Linked DNA regions of Homo sapiens: region 1 is linked to region 2. Evidence: promoter capture Hi-C in 16 types of primary human blood cells and fetal thymus (Javierre and others, 2016). All regions are on one chromosome and are shown on one strand. Each heading gives the region's core, a stretch centred on a gene start or on the middle of the fragment in contact. The rest is flanking DNA. Distances are from core to core; before and after follow the strand shown. Region 1 overlaps ATP8A1 (ATPase phospholipid transporting 8A1). Region 2 holds the start of DCAF4L1 (DDB1 and CUL4 associated factor 4 like 1).

Region 1 (5,508 bases), core at 1,005-3,504, 550 kb after region 2:
CATGCATCACTTATGCTTCTCTAGTTCTTGCTCTTTTATAAACTGCCTACTATTCATTTAGTTATTATGCAGCTTTGGTTTAGTGCTTTAAGAATTTTAGTGTTCAACCTTCACGGTTTTATTAGACCAGGAAAAAATAAATCACTTATCTGCAATTACTTTCTCAGTGGTATTACCCATTTTGGGGTCTCCAGTCTCAGGGCTGATATTTGGAAGCAGACTAATGGAGTATGATTTAGAACCCTTGAGAGAAACACAACTTAGTGACCTCAGAACAGATGGAGTATTCCAAGCCGCAATTCTGAATTTCTTTTCATTTTTCAGTGATGGAATGGGAAGTGGGGGGCAAAGCGAAAGGAAATGATAGTTTCCCCTCATGGCTCCTTCCTGAGAATGAGAAGAATCATTTGTAAATTCTTCTTTTAAGAAGAATTAAATTTGAAAATAATATTTTCAATGATATTAATACATTCCATTCTAAAACTAAGAAAATATTTGAAAACATTAAAATCATGAAAACAAAAGTGATAAGTAATATAGCTAAAAGGATTAAATTCGGTACTGTATCCAAACATTCTAGCGGAAGACACTGACGTTTAGAATGAGAAAAATTAATTTTCTACCTTCTTTATAGTGTTGAGAAAAAGCAGAAGAAAGATGTGGCCTTCTGCATTACATGTATAGTATGTTTTTAAAATGAAAATGGGTCGGCTAGCCATGCCTACACATGAAAAATGAATAAACATTGTGAAGGTTAATACTGAGTGTCAACTTGATTGGATTGAAGGATACAAAGTATTGATCCTGGGTGTGTCTGTGAGGGTGTTACCAAAGGAGATTAACATTTGAGTCAGTGGGCTGGGGAAGGCAGACCCACCCTTAATCTGGGTGGGCACAATCTAGTCAGCTGCCTGCGAATATAAAGCAGGTAGAAAAATGTGAAATGGCAAGACTGGCCTAGCCTCTCCCGTGCTGGATGCTTCCTGTCCTTGAACATCGGACTCCAAGTTCTTCAGTTTTGGAACTCAGACTGGCTCTCCTTGCTCCTCAGCCTGCAGGTCCCATGGCCTATTGTGGGACCTTGTGATTGTGTGAGTTAATGCTTAAGAAACTCCCCTTTATATATATGTATTTATTCTATTAATTCTGTCCCTCTAGAGAACCCTGACTAATACAGATTTTGGTACCAAGAGTGGCTCTAGAGGAACAGAATATTAAGATGGAGTTCTTTCATTGGTTTTGGGGTTTCTGGAGGTGGCTGCTTAATATGATTAGACCCCAAAATGCTAAGGACTCTACCTGTAGTATGGAGAACACTGATAGTCCTTGGCATAAACTGGAGAGTTATGTAAAATAAATGCATTTGACATTCCTGATTCTTCTTTCATGACAGACAATGAGTTTAGTGACTCTATACATAATACCTTTGGCCATATGTGGAGAACCAAGGAACATAATGAAGCTGGTTGGTTGCTCCTAAGTTCAGTGGACAAAGTAATGAAAGAAAATGATGAACTCAGGGATTCTATCTCCTGGCTTCAGAAGCAGATACTGAGTCTCAAATCTGCTAAGACTGCCCTGAGTGAGAGTCTTATCTCCTGCAGGGAAAGAGCTGAAATTGTGGAAAAACAGACACAAGCTGTTATCATGCGAATGGCTGACCCGCAAGGAAAGGTGCATGCGTAGCCTCAACAGGTGTCTACTGTTAAAGGGAGGACATTGATTGGAAAAGAATGGGACCCCGCAACTTGGAATGGGGACGTGTGGGAGGACCCTGATGAAGCTGGGGACACTGAGTTTGTAAACTCTGATGAACCTTTTTTGCCAGAAGTAACAGCTTCCCCATCCCCAGTAGGGGCAACTTCCCCTCTCTGAACCATGTTGCCATCAGCCTTTCCACTTTTGTCTGAGGAGATAAAGCCTGTGCTGCCTGAGGTAACAACGATGGCCTCCCCTGAAGCAGTTGCCAGGCAAGATGATGTTGATTCTCTTCTGGACCCACCCCCAACACCCCTGTTTGCTTCTAGACCTATAACTAGACTAAAGTCCCAGCGAGTCCCTAGACGTGAGGATGAGAGTGTGACTCATGAGGAGATGCACTACACTCAAAAGGAATTGCCTGAGTTTTCAAATTTATATAAGCAGAAAACTTCTAGGTCGAATGGATAAAAGACTAATTTTGAGTTACAAAAACAGAGAATCACAGTCCCTCAATCAATTTCCAAACTTGAGCCAGTTTATAGACCCAGAACCCCTTGAATGAAGGGGAGGCTGGGTACCCTAGAGGAAGGACTCCACTACATAACCGACAATTTATGCTGTTAATCCTTCTCCCATCCTTCCCCAGAGAGACCTCTGGCCTTTTACCAGGGTAACTTTGCACTGGGGAAAGGGAAATGATCAGACATTTTGGGGACTACTGGACACTGGCTCTGAGCTGGTGATGATTCCAGGGGACCCAAAATGTCATTGTGGTCCTCCAGTTAAAATAGGGGTTTATGGTGGTCAGGTAATTAATGGAGTTTTAGCTCAGGTCTGACTTGCAGTGGGTCCAGTGGGTCTCCGGGCTCATCCTGTGGTCATTTCCCTGATGCCAGAATGCATAATTGGCATAGACATACTTAGCAACTGGCAGGATCCCCACATTGGCTCCCTGACTGGTAGGGTGAGGGCTATTACGGTGGGAAAGGCCAAATGGAAGCCATGAGAGCTGCCTCTCCCTAGAAAAATAGTAAATCAAAAACAATATCACATCCCTGGAGGGATTACAGAGATTAGTGCCACCATCAAGGACTTGAAAGACGCAGGGGTGGTGATTCCCACCACATCCCCATTCAACTCTCCCATCTGGCCTGTGCAGAAGACACATGGATCTTGGGGAATGACAGTGGATTATCAGAAGTTTAACCAAGTGGTGACTCCAATTGTAGCTGCTGTACCAGATGTGGTTTCATTGCTTGAGCATATTAACACATCTCCTGGTATCTGGTATGCAACCACCGACTTGGCAAATTCCTTTTTCTCCACTCCTGCCTATAAGGCCCACCAAGCAATTTGCCTTCAACATACCTTTACTGTCCTACCCCAGGGGCATATCAACTCTCCTGCTTTGTGTCATGATCTTATTCAGTGAGACCTTGATTGCTTTTCACTTCCACAAGATATCACACTGGTCCATCACACTGATGACATTATGCTGATTGGATCCAGTGAGCAAGAAGTAGCAAACACACTGGACTTATTGGTGAGATATTTGTGTGCCAGAGGATGGGAAATAAACCTGACTAAAATTAAGGGACCTTCTACCCCAGTAAAATTTCTAGGGGTCCAGTGGTGTGGGGGCTGTTGAGATATTCCTTCTAAGGTGAAGGATAAGTTGTTGCATTTGGCCCCTCCTACAATGAGAGGCACAATGCCTAGTGGGCTTATGTGGATTTTGGAGGCATCACATTCCTTATCTAGGTGTGTTACTCTGGCCCATTTATCAAGTGACCCTAAAGGCCACTGGACCCCAGTTTTGAGTGGGGTCCAGAACGGACACAGGTCCAGGCTGCTGTACAAGCTGCTCTGCCACTTGGTCCATATGACCTAGCAGATTCAATGGTATTTGAGGTGTCAGTGGCAGACGGGGATGCTGTTTGGAGCCTTTGGCAGGCCCCCATAGGTGAATCACAGTGGAGGCATCTAGGATTTTGGAGCAAGGCCCTGCCATAATCTGCAGGTAACTACTCTCCTTTTGAGAGACAGCTCTTGGCTTGTTACTGGGCTTTGGTGGAAACTGAACATTTGACCATGGGTCATCAAGTCACGATGCGACCTGAACTGCGTATCATGAACTGGGTACTTTCTGACCCATCTAGCCATCAAGTGGGTCATGCACCAGCAGCACTGCATCATCAAATTGAAGTGGTATATACGTGATCAGGCTTGAGCAGGTCCTGAAGGCACAAGTAAGTTATGTGAGGAAGTGCCTCAAATGCCCATGGTCTCCACTCCTACCACTGTGCCTTCTCTTCCCCAGCCTGCACCGATGGCCTCATGGGGAGTTCCCTATGATCCAGTTGACAGAGGAAGAGAAGACTAGGGCCTGGTTCACAGATGGTTCTGCACGATATGCAGGCACTACCCGAAAGTAGACAGCTGAAGCACGACAGCCCCTTTCTAGGACATCCCTGAGGGACAGTGGTGAGGTGAAATCTTCCCGGTGGGCAGCACTTCAAGCAGTGCAGCTGGTTGTGCACTTTGCATGGAAAGAGAAATGGCCAGATGTGTGATTATATACTGATTCATGGGCTGTAGCCAATGGTTTGGCTGGATGGTCAGGGACTTGGAAGAAGCATGACTGGAAAATTGGTGACAAAGAAATCTGGGGAAGAAGTATGTGGATGGACCTCTGAGTGGTCAAAAACCGTGAAGATATTTGTATCCCATGTGAGTGCTCACCAACGGGTAATCTCAGCAGAGGAGGAGTTTAATAATCAAGTGGATAGGATGAACTGTTCTGTGGACACCACTCAGCCTCTTTCCCCAGCCACCCCTGTCATTACCCAATGGGCCCATGAACAAAGTGGCCATGGTGGCAAGGATGGAGGTTACGCATGGGCTCAGCAACATGGACTTCTACTCACCAAGGATGACCTGGCTATGGCCACTGCTGAGTGCCCAATTTGCCAGCCGCAGAGACCAGCACTGAGCCCTTGATATGGCACCATTCCTTGGGGTGATCAGCCAGCCACCTGGTGGCAGATTTTTGCATCATGAAAAGGGCAGAGGTTTATCCTCACTGGAACAGACACTTACTCTGGATATGGGTTTGCCTATCCTGCACGCAGTGCTTCTGCCAAGACTACCATCTGTGGACTCAAGATCTTCCACACAGTACTGCCTCTGACCAAGGCACTTACTAAAGAAGTGTGGCAGTGGGCTCATGCATCCACTGTCACAGTATTCCACACAGCACTGCCTCTGGCCAAGGCACTCACTTTATGGCTAAAGACGTGTGGCAGTGGGCTCACTGGTCTTACCATGGAACTCACTGGTCTTACCATGTTCCCATCATCCTGAAGCAGCTAGATTGATAGAAGGGTGGAATGGCCTTTTGAGTTACAATTACAGTGCCAACTAGGTGACAACACTTTGCAGGGCCGGAGCAAAGTTCTCCAGAAGGCCGTGTATGCTCTGAATCAGCATCCAATATATGGTACTGTTTCTCCCATAGCCAGGATTCAGGGGTCCAGGAATCAAGGGGTGGAAGTGGAAGTGGCACCACTCACCATCACTCCTAGTGATCCACTAGCAACATTTTTGCTTCCTGTTCCTGCGACATTATGTTCTGCTGGCCTAGAGGTCTTAGTTCCAGAGGGAGGAACACTGTTATCAGGAGACACAACAATGATTCAATTAAACTGGAAGTTAAGATTGCCACCTGGACACTTTGGGCTCCTCCTACCTTTAAGTCAACAGGCTAAGGGAGTTACAGTGTTGGCTGGGGTGACTGACCCAGACTAC
Region 2 (5,404 bases), core at 848-3,347:
AAAACTTCCTCCATGCCTTCCAGAGCAGACTAGACCCGTAGTTCCAACTTTCTTTATACACACCCCTTTTTTTCCATGTGCCTGCTCTTCCGATGGTGGGGTCAGGAGGTTTAAGAAGGAAAACAGGCAATGCCTTAAATGTCTGACTGCCGCCATGTTGCTATCTGCTTTCTGTAGGTCATTGTTAGAATATATGGGGTTCCTAACAGCCCCACTGATAACTCAGTATCAAGCAGTCCTCTATGCTTTGATAGCCCTTTGCAAGACTTCTGCATCTGTCAGCTGACTTCCATTTGGCAGTGGTGAAACACATTCTTCTGATACATAGAAATCCCTTGTCCCATGTTATGTTCCATGGCAAGTGTGTGGGCCTCAATCTCCTGTGCTCTCTGTGATCCCAGCTCTGGGGCCTGTAGATTCCGACAGGATCCATAGTCCAGATATCACCGGATTTCTCTGTAGTCCCTACCAACTCTCCCCAGTCCTCCAAAATTCCTGGAAATTCATAGCGTAAGGGGAGTCAGCAAGCTTTGTGGCAAAGGAAACATCCAGATGGGGACTGGAGATATCAGCCTCCTCTTGAAGACACCCCAAAACTTTACTAGTATCATGTAATAGGTACTAATGTCCTGAACAGAACATGAAAGACACTAACCATTAATGAAACAAATGGACAATTTGGATAAATTCATAATTTATTTACTTATTTTTCTTTCTTTTTGAGACAGGGTCTTATTCTGTCTCCCAGCTGGGCTGGAGTGCAGTGGGGTGATCACTGCAGCCTCAACTTTCAGGGCTCAGGTGATTTTCCCTCCAAGACTCCTAGGCTCAAGTGATTTTCCCTCCCAGTCTCCTGAGTAGCTGGGTCTACAGGTGTGCACCATACCCCGCTAATTTTTGTATTTTATTTATTTATTTATTTTTTGAGACAGAGTCTTGCTCTGTTGCCCAGGCTAGAATGCAGTGGCGCGATCTCGGCTCACTGCAAGCTCCGCCTCCCGGGTTCACGCCATTCTCTTGCCTCAGCCTCCAGAGTAGCTGGGTCTACAGGCGCCCGCCACGATGCCCGGCTAATTTTTTTAATTGTTGGTAGAGACGGGGTTTCACCGTGTTAGCCGGGATGGTCTCAATCTCTTGACCTCGTGATCCGCCTGCCTGCGCCTCCCAAAGTGCTGGGATTACAGGCGTGAGCCACTGCGCCCGGCCTAATCTTTGTATTTTTTTAGAGACAAAGTTTCACCATGCCGCCCAGGCTGGTCTCTAACTGTATTTTAAAAATACAGGCGGCCGGGCGCAGTGGCTCACGCTTGTAATCCCGGAACTTTAGGAGGCTGAGGCGGGCCGATCATGAGGTCAGCAGATCGAGACCATCTGGCTAACACGGTGAAACCCTGTCTCTACTAAAAATACAAAAAAAATTAGCCAGGCGTGGTGGCGGGCGCCTGTAGTCCCAGCCACTTGGGAGGCTGAGGCAGGAGAATGGCGTGAACGTGGGAGGCAGAGCTTGCAGTGAACCGAGATCGCGCCACTGTACTCCAGCCTGGCCGACAGAGCGAGACTCCGTCTTAAAATAAAAAATAAAAAAATAAGAAATACAGGCAGGGCGCGTGGGCTCATGCTTGTAATCCCAGCACTTTGGGAGGCTGAGGCGGACAGGCTGCTTGAGCTCAAGAGTTCCAGACTAGCATCGGCAAAGCAGGGAGACCCCATCTTTACAAAAAAAGTAGCCTGGCATGGTGTTGTGAGCCCATAGTCCCAGCTAAGTAGGGCAGAGGTAGGAGAATCACTTGAGCCCAGGAGTTCCAGGCTGCAGTGAGCCGTGGTCGTGCCACTGGACTCCAGCCTGGGTGAAAGAGCAAGACCCTGTCTCAAAAAGAGAAAGGAAAAAATTTAACATCAAGAACTTCCTTTCATCAAGACACCACTGAGAGAATACGACAACCCACAGAGTAGGAAAAGAGATTTGTAATACACATCTGTAACAATGGACTTCCTCCTAGAATAGAGAGGATAAAAAGTAGCAACACTTCCGCTTGCACCCGGACGGAACTTCCTGTCACGGAAAAGAACATCCTGTCACGGAGAAGAACATCCTGCAGAATTTCCTGTCACGAGGAACATTCCGCAGGAGGAAATGGAGGCTGAAAGGCTGCGACTCCTCGAGGAAGAGGCCAAGCTGAAAAAGGTAGCCAGAATGGGATTTAATGCATCTTCCATGCTCCGAAAAAGCCAGCTAGGTTTCCTCAACGTCACCAGTTACTCCCGTTTAGCCAACGAGCTGCGTGTGAGCTGCATGGAGCGGAAAAAGGTCCAAATTCGGAGCTTGGATCCCTCCTCTTTGGCGAGCGACCGATTTAACTTCATTCTGGCGAGTACCAACAGCGACCAGCTCTTCGTAGTGAACCAGGTCGAAGTCGAAGGCTCCAAGTACGGCATCATCAGCCTGCGAACTCTGAAGATCCCTTCGTTCCACGTGTACGTGCTCAGAAACCTCTACGTCCCCAACCGGAAGGTGAAGTCCCTGTGCTGGGCCTCGCTGAACCAGTTGGACTCTCACGTTCTGCTGTGCTTCGAGGGAATCACAGATGCTCCAAGCTGTGCAGTGCTGCTCCCAGCGTCGCGGTTCTTAAGTGTTCACACAAGAGTTAACCAGCCTGGCATGCTCTGCAGTTTCCAGATCCCAGAGGCCTGGTCCTGTGCGTGGTCCCTCAACACCCGGGCATATCACTGCTTTAGTGCAGGCTTGTCTCAGCAGGTCCTGTTGACCAGCGTGGCGACGGGACACCAGCAGTCATTTGATACCAGCAGTGATGTCTTGGCCCAGCAGTTTGCTAGTACGGCTCCTTTGCTGTTTAATGGCTGTCGCTCCGGGGAGATCTTTGCCATTGATCTGCGTTGTAGAAATCGAGGCAAGGGGTGGAGGGCCACTCGCCTGTTCCATGACTCAGCAGTGACCTCTGTGCAAATCCTCCAAGAAGAGCAATGCCTGATGGCATCAGACATGACTGGAAAGATCAAGCTGTGGGATCTGAGGGCCACTAAATGTGTAAGGCAGTACGAAGGTCACGTGAATGAGTCCGCCTATCTGCCCCTGCATGTGCACGAGGAAGAGGGAATCGTGGTGGCAGTGGGCCAGGACTGCTACACGAGAATCTGGAGCCTCCATGATGCCCACCTGCTCAGAACCATCCCTTCCCCGTACTCTGCCTCCGAGGACGACATTCCCAGCGTGGCCTTCGCTTCTCGGCTCGGGGGCATCCGGGGAGCAGCACCAGGGCTGCTCATGGCTGTCCGGCAGGACCTTTATTGTTTCCCCTTCAGCTAATTCTGCAGGTGGCAGCGCGGCCGAATGTGGATTTGACTTAAGGAAGTTAAGAGTATCTTATTACCGTTTCTGTGAGAGCATTTTAAGAGACGTGTTGTATATAGATCGCATCCATCCGGCTGCCAGGGGTAAGGTGTTAAGAGTTTTATGTGGAGACGTTCTTGTAAAGTTATTTCAGTTAAACTGTGGACTTAACTTGAAAGTCCTTTTCATAAAAGGTACCTGTTTCCTCTTGTTGAATGCCTTAGAACAGTTAACCACCTCCCCAACCCTTTTTTTTTTTAAATAATTAAGACTTTTCTAAGGACTGAAGATTGGCAAAAACTAAAATAAATTAAAGCAGCTTCTTTCACTAGTAGCCCTTTAGAGAAGCATAATGATGGTACTGGTAAGACTGTTTGACTAATCATACAGGGTCCCAGGCATCTGCGCTTGAGGAAGCCAGTGGGAGTGGAGACAAGGGAGAGGTAATTTCTCAGAGTCTCTACAGAAATATTTAAGGCTGGAGTTTGGAATCATTAAATTTGGCCTTCTCAAACTCAATAGCAGATCTCTTAAGGTTCTCCTTTTATTGTTATCATCCATAGGCATTGGAAGGAAAGATGGATCTTTTTAAATACTAGAAGTTTTAAACAGTCCTTGATGTGCTTTTGTTGAGGTACCTTTCAGAATGTAAGGTACAGCAGCTCCGGTTTCTATTATGGTGACTTGAAGTTCAGATTCAAGGAATTGGCTTTGACTTTTTGTAATCTAGGAGCAGCAGTTTGTGAGAGATTTATTAAAAATGTTAAAGAGCCTGTTTTTCTACTAAGCAAGGAAGAAAAAAAACGTGTAATAAGGTTAGTTGCTACTTCTTAATAGCCAAAGCCTGGAAATGATCTGAATTTCGAAAATGCTAAAATTCGTGATATAATCATACAATCGGATACTGCATAATAATAGAAAATAAGGCACACTTGCTATGTGAAACAGTATGGACCAATCTCAACATGTTGACTGAAATTAGGTAGAAATGAGTACAAACTGTATGATTCAATTCTAAAGTTCAAAAGCAGTAAAAACTTGTCTATGGTGATTAAAGGTAGAGTAGTACGTACCTCTGTAGAAAGAAAGGATTTTTTTTTCTTTTTCTTTTTAGGATGTTTGAGAAGTGACATGGGGAAGCTTTAGGAATGCTGAGTTTTCTTTATCTTGACACTTGATACATACGTAATTCATATATCTATATGCTTCACGTTTTTATAGTTTACTGTATATATGTTATTCCTCAAAAAATAAAAATAAGCAATTAGGACACTATTGTAGTTAGGCAAGGGACAATGATGCCTTGGACCTGCATGTGTGAGAAGTAGAAATGATCAGAAATGATTGCATTGGAAGATCATTCGAAGGTAGTATTATTGATAAGGCTTGCTGATGAGAGTAAACTAGAAAGTGAAAGAAAAAAGGATGGCAGCTTTTTTTTTTTTTTTTTTGAGACGGAGTCTCCTTCTGTCGCCCAGGCTGGAGTGCAGTGGCGCGATCTCGGCTCACTGCAAGCTCTGAGGATGGCAGCTTTTTTGTTAACTTTAGAACTGGTAGATGATGGTGTCGTTTACTAACCTGGGGAGGATGAGGAGAAAAAACTTTAGGTGAAGGGAATGATGCTGAGTTTTAGACATCTACTAAACCTCCAATTGGAGATACAAAGTATTCTGCAGATCAGGGGTCATGTCATGGCTGGTAATACAAATTTGGTGACTTCAATACATAGAATTAAAATAGATGGGATAGATGTGCTTTATATGACATAGATGAGGTTAATGTAATTACATATTGATAGAAGATGAGTAGATCAATAGAGAAGATATGGGAGTATGGTTAGGCACAGATTTTTGGAATCCTTTCAGTCAGTTTTTTATACTAACTTGATATGTGACATGAGAAATTGTGTAAGCTTTACTTGCTGTTGTTTCTTCAGTGTAAAATGTCTTAGATAATAAAACTAAATGATAAAGTAGATACAGGGTTAAAGGATATGTATCTTGTCCCTTTTACATTGTAAGCATTCAAAATAAAACAAAACAATTAATGAAGAAA

What was found. Contacts are between HindIII fragments. The CHiCAGO score rates a contact against its expected background, and 5 or more counts as called.
Region 1: a contact is called between a fragment that was not itself captured here and the fragment with the promoter of DCAF4L1 in region 2, in 1 of 17 cell types (total B cells). The highest score is 5.6, in total B cells.

Annotation. Positions count from the first base shown.
Region 1 is chr4:42,525,593-42,531,100 of GRCh38, forward strand. The region is part of intron 20 of ATP8A1 (ATPase phospholipid transporting 8A1); the gene reads right to left. Among named protein-coding and RNA genes, the nearest start is that of ATP8A1, 130 kb to the right of the region's middle. The HindIII fragment of the contact is 7,276 bases long and covers 1-5,508 here.
Region 2 is chr4:41,979,659-41,985,062 of GRCh38, forward strand. It overlaps DCAF4L1 (DDB1 and CUL4 associated factor 4 like 1), which reads left to right and starts at 2,098. Exons shown (of 1, transcript NM_001029955.4): 1 at 2,098-5,404. The coding sequence starts at 2,135. The coding sequence ends at 3,325. RefSeq lists enhancers at 1,829-3,028, 2,588-3,360. The HindIII fragment of the contact is 3,961 bases long and covers 527-4,487 here.